2 separate regions of the Homo sapiens genome follow, and region 1 is linked to region 2. The links are contacts of gene promoters, found by promoter capture Hi-C in human tissues and cell types (Jung and others, 2019). All regions are on one chromosome and are shown on one strand. Each heading gives the region's core, a stretch centred on a gene start or on the middle of the fragment in contact. The rest is flanking DNA. Distances are from core to core; before and after follow the strand shown.

Region 1 (2,700 bases), core at 38-2,537, 1.2 Mb after region 2:
GATGACAGGTTGAAGTCTCTATATTTTAGATCTAGGCATAGACCCATGGACTTTCTCTGCTTGTGATAAGTATCTACAAAAATGTCAAAGTCAAATGCAAAGTTTAAATTCTGTGGGTTTCTGAATAAGGTCTGTGGAATTGCTAGTGTCACCAGGTGACTTATGTGAAAGTGACAGCAATGATCAGGAAATAATGGGAAATTGAATGTAGGTAAGAATACGGAGGCCTGGGAGTACCTCCAAACCATGTTCTACACTAAGCCTTGCTTGACAGCCAAAGACCTGCAGCCTTTCTCTTTGCATCTTCATCATCCTACCTCAGGGCTGAGCCAGTTCTCTATCTGTAGCCCTTGTCAATCTCACCTTCAACATGGAGCATCATGTCAGCAGGACCTGGAGAGGAAGCTGTAGCTGGTATCTTTAAGACCTAGTTAAGACATTATGTAGGCCAGAGGATGGAGGAAAAATCTTTGAAAACATAAGTACTCGCTACCTTAAGAAAGTCTCTATTGGTCTAGTCATCTGGTAAACTCCAAAGTATATGTGAATACCTTAATTCTCTAATATTAAGAGTCGAAATGCTTAGTGGGTCATTCTGGGTTTTGCAGGCAACATGTTCAACATTTGCACCTATTTATTCAATCCATTTACCCAGTGGTTTGAAAGTTTTTCTTTCAAATGGCTATACTACTTGGAAATTATGGTCCAGCTGACCCAATGGTGCCCCAAGTGTCTATGGCAAATCAAACAAATGTCCCTAAGAGGTGAGTCTCAGAAGAAGTGCTTAGATTTTAGAATAATAATGTGGCCTCTTTATTGCATTACTCTCCCTTTGAGAGAGATGTCTTGGTTTGCTACTGGGCCTGAGTAGAGATTAAACCTTGACCACAAGATACCAGGTGACTATCAAAACAAACTATGATTATGTACCAGGTTGTAGAAATTTCCTCCTCCTTCCTCCAGTGTGGCTTGCATCTTTCCAGCAGATTAAGAAATTCTCATTCCCCCAGGGGGAACATAGTGAACTTGGTGTTTCTAGAGATGTCTGGCATTATCTTTGTCGTTCAACAGCATTTCTTGGGTACTCAGGATAAGCCATGCACTCACTCACTATAATAAAGATGCAAAAGACTGGCTCCCTAAGCCCAGGACCTCATGGTTGGTACAGAAATGGGTTCATAATAGGCAACAGAGAGGCAGCCTTGGAGGGGACCATAATTTCGTTTTCCTTTCTTGCTACTTGGGAATAAAATTATGTGTTTCAAATATATTGGGGCAAAGGTATCCTTCTCCAAGTCAGTGTTGGCCATTCTTGGCCTTCTTTCCCTGCAGAGAAGGAAGGTCTAACCTTGTTGAAAGAACAGTATTCATGGAGAATTTATACTTAAATCTTGCTTATTTATATCACTGTCTGGAGTGTTTCTCATAACAGATCATTATGATCAAAAATTAATACTTACTATGATGAGAATGTTCATTACGGTGCACAGTACAGAAAGGATGCTTAAGCTTGGGCAAATCCAAAGTGCCTTCCCCTTCATTTTCAAAAGTAAAATGGGAATGTGTAAGAACTTGAATGCACTAGAATCCATTAGAGGCAGAACAAATCAATGCTCTGAGATCATTAGTTTGATTATCATTAAACTGTCCACAGTCAAACAATGACAAAAAATAATCAGCATGCCTTCTTACATTGTGGGCAACAGCAAGCCAAAGTGGATGTTATATATGCCAGAGCTTCAAATGTTAGCCACCCAAGAGCCTCATTGTGTCATAAAATTCCGTAGTTGTTTCCTGCCGCTGAAAGGCGCAGTTTTCATGAAAACATTGCCATGGCTCAAACCCCACAGTGGAGCCAACCCACATCTGCCGCATGGTAGAACCTCAGTGCCAACTGTCCACTGCTCCACGCAGCTCTCCTGCCAACCACCTCCCCACAGCAGGTGAAAGTGAGCACCAGCACCCTCTATGGCCGGGCAGCCGGGTGACTGCCGGCAGCCAAGGGTCAAGGCATCATCGCCTGTGGTGAGGGGCAGTTTGCTGAACCCAAATTGAAAGGTTTTTCTGTCCAAATCCATCCAGGATTGCTTAAATGTCAAGAACTATGGTAGCTAGCTTTGGGTTCTGTATTGTAATCTGAACCATGTAAATGCCCTTCACCACAAAAAAGCTTGATGGATCTTGTGAACAAAACAGAAAGAACTTCTGCCAATAGCTGAGAAATAAATTCCCCCTTTCCTGCTGCTTGGACCACAGCATAATGAGGGCTCCCAAGCTCTCCTTGCAGTAATAAAATGGAATGTACAGCCTTTTCCTTTTGATGTGCTCCAGTTTAAAACTTTAGAGCTGATGCCTTTTCATCCTTAATTTATCTTCCCTTGTAAATATTTCTTTACCACTTCCAATATCTTAAGTACACATTTTAAAAAATAATTCACTCCTTCTCCTATTTCAGTTGTATAACTTTATGCTATGGGTCAAGTTTTGGGCTAAATAAACATGCCTCCAGCTACAGCTCTGCAAATACCTCTGGCAGCAAATTAAGTCAAACAAATGTTTTGGTTGGGTGGTGAGGATGTTTTTTAACGATCTTCCTGTTCTTGTCTGGAGGCCCAAGGATAGACTAGGTGAACTCTCACAGGCTTTTCTAATTTTGTATTTTCTTTTTCTTTTCTTTCTTTCCCCCTCGCTAACTGTATT
Region 2 (2,700 bases), core at 46-2,545:
CCTATTTGAGGGGAGTAACAATGGGGATTGGGAGAGACTTTTATGCTGAATTTCTAAACTCCCAGCTGAATCACGACTAGAACAAGGATAGCACCTCCTGAAGAGCAAAGTTTAGATCTCGTGTATCAACTGAATGATTCTTGAATCCTTTCTTCCCTTGCATACGAGCTAAGTAGGATGTCTTTGCAGCAGGAAATAAAGGGGAGAGGGTACAGAAACCCGGGTCTGGGAAATGGAGAGACTGGGCCACATTCATGGAGCCAGGAGGGGGAAATCAATGAGCATCATCTGACTTTGCAAAGGCTTTGATCCTTGTCTCCTTCCCCACTTCCGAGACTTTCCCATTCTTTCCTGGAGGTATGGCAGGTTATACATGGATCCATTCACCTTTGCGGGAGTCTTTGGCCACTGAACATAGTTAAAGAGCCTTTATTCCAATGTCTTGAAAATAGATGAAAATATTAAACAGAAGTGGAGCTGTTTGGCTCTTTTTGCAAGCCAGCAACGAGGATTTGGGCTTCCTTAAGTTATATGTGTTTAAGACAGTAATTTTTAAAAGTCATTATAAGGACTTTGGGCTGCAGGAACTCTCCCTGCCATTCACCGGCTTAATGGACATTGTGCCTTCTTGGGCATTCCTGTCCAGCCCGCGTCCGGGAGATACTCATCTCCTGCAAAGGAAGTTGCCTCTTTCCCCAAAGAGCAAATTTTCAAAACATGTAAGTTACAACTTGCTTCCCAACACTCCACTAAAAAAAAAAAAAATGCTGTTTCCCTTCCTTCTTGCCTCCATCCTACATCCCCCCGCTCCCCACTCCCTGCACCTTGACTCCCTATTTCAGTATCAGTGTTTAATTCTACACTCGCCTTTGGTGCAGCCCACGGGGGCGGGGTAGTGGGAAGCAAGGAAAGATGGTCGCCCACCTCATTCCCAAAACATGTGCACTTTTGAGGCTTCTGATTGGAACACATTGTCCCCAGACATCACAGAGCCTTGTGCTGTGGCTTCTGCGATGTCTTTGGAATTTACTAAAAACAGATAGACTAAGACCCCTCCCCACTCCACAACAAGCAAAAACACACACAAGCGCGCGGGCGCGCACACACACAAACACACACACCCCCTCAGTACCCCCCACCCCCTTTTTAAGCAATGCTTTGTTGTGCTAAAACTAGTTGGACGAGTTAGGGTGTTACTGTTGCTCCCGAGGCCCTGGCCAATAGAACCAGATCCACCCCGCTGTGCGTAAGCGCGCAATTAAGGATTTAACCAAGGCTGTGCTGCGCCTCAGCCAGCAGTCAGCCGGCCGGAGACAGAGACTTCACGACTCCCAGTCTCCTCCTCGCCGCGGCCGCCGCCTCCTCCTTCTCTCCTCCTCCTCTTCCTCCTCCTCCCTCGCTCCCACAGCCATGTCTGCTTAGACCAGAGCAGCCCCACAGCCAACTAGGGCAGCTGCCGCCGCCACAACAGCAAGGACAGCCGCTGCCGCCGCCCGTGAGCGATGACAGGAGTGTTTGACAGAAGGGTCCCCAGCATCCGATCCGGCGACTTCCAAGCTCCGTTCCAGACGTCCGCAGCTATGCACCATCCGTCTCAGGAATCGCCAACTTTGCCCGAGTCTTCAGCTACCGATTCTGACTACTACAGCCCTACGGGGGGAGCCCCGCACGGCTACTGCTCTCCTACCTCGGCTTCCTATGGCAAAGCTCTCAACCCCTACCAGTATCAGTATCACGGCGTGAACGGCTCCGCCGGGAGCTACCCAGCCAAAGCTTATGCCGACTATAGCTACGCTAGCTCCTACCACCAGTACGGCGGCGCCTACAACCGCGTCCCAAGCGCCACCAACCAGCCAGGTACATGGACAGGGGGAAGGCTGGGCAGATACAGGGCGACTAGGACGCTGGGGGCGCGAGATGGGGTGGTAGATTGGGGGTCACAGCGGTTCACGGCAGTGGGGGCGCACGCGGCAGAAGGGAGTAGGACTCAGACCCTCCAACAAAGAGAGTTTCTCGGGCCAGCATTTTAGGGATTTTTAGTAGGAGAGCCCTGTGGAGGTTCGAACTAGCGTCTCTCCCCTCCGGCACCTTCCAAGGCCCTTCAGTCGCTGAATTCCCAGCTTGCCCGGCCAGGAAGCCGGCTAGGCTGGAAAGGGGATAGGGGTGGAGAGAAGAAAGAATCAAGCAGCTCCTGGCGTTTGCGTAACAAAGAGAAGGTTACTTGGGAATTTTGGTAAGCGTGCTGGGTTGGTGCGAGTGGGAATAGAAGGCTGCCTCAAAAACTCAGTCAGGATTAGTTTGAGAGCCGCCACAAGCTAGCACGGTGCGGGTGCCCTGAGCACGCTGGGTGGGGGTGGGGGGGTTAAGGAGTTGTAGCCAGCCAGAGAAGAGCGCGCCGAGAGTTTTGCGGTTTATCCAGGCATTTCCAAAAACAAAAAGCCATTTAAAGGTGGAGGAGGGTTGCTGAGGGGTCACGTTGTAGGATAGATTTTTTTTTCTGTCTCCATAGGCGCCCACAATTTGTCTTTCCGTCCTCCTTTTTCGTCCGCTTTGAAACTTACTTAGAGAGTTTAAGAGGGTTAGTGAGCTTGGGCGGTAAGAGAAAGGCATGAGGCTCGGCGGAGAGGTTTTATTGGTAAGGTTTGATCTCTTCCCACCAGCACATTAATAATCCTGCTAATATTAGCATCCCCTACTCTG

Evidence for each region. The method cuts DNA at HindIII sites, captures the fragments that hold promoters and counts their contacts. A contact is called where the count stands out against the background at its distance.
Region 1: a contact is called between a fragment that was not itself captured here and the fragment with the promoter of DLX5 in region 2, in 1 of the 25 tissues and cell types used here (dorsolateral prefrontal cortex).

The regions. Positions count from the first base shown.
Region 1 is chr7:95,871,340-95,874,039 of GRCh38, reverse strand. All of the region lies in intron 6 of DYNC1I1 (dynein cytoplasmic 1 intermediate chain 1), which reads right to left. Among named protein-coding and RNA genes, the nearest start is that of DYNC1I1, 100 kb to the right of the region's middle. The HindIII fragment of the contact is 6,812 bases long and covers 1-2,700 here.
Region 2 is chr7:97,023,426-97,026,125 of GRCh38, reverse strand. It overlaps DLX5 (distal-less homeobox 5), which reads left to right and starts at 1,295. Exons shown (of 3, transcript NM_005221.6): 1 at 1,295-1,857. The coding sequence starts at 1,503. RefSeq lists enhancers at 1-146, 1,073-1,789. The HindIII fragment of the contact is 6,057 bases long and covers 1-2,700 here.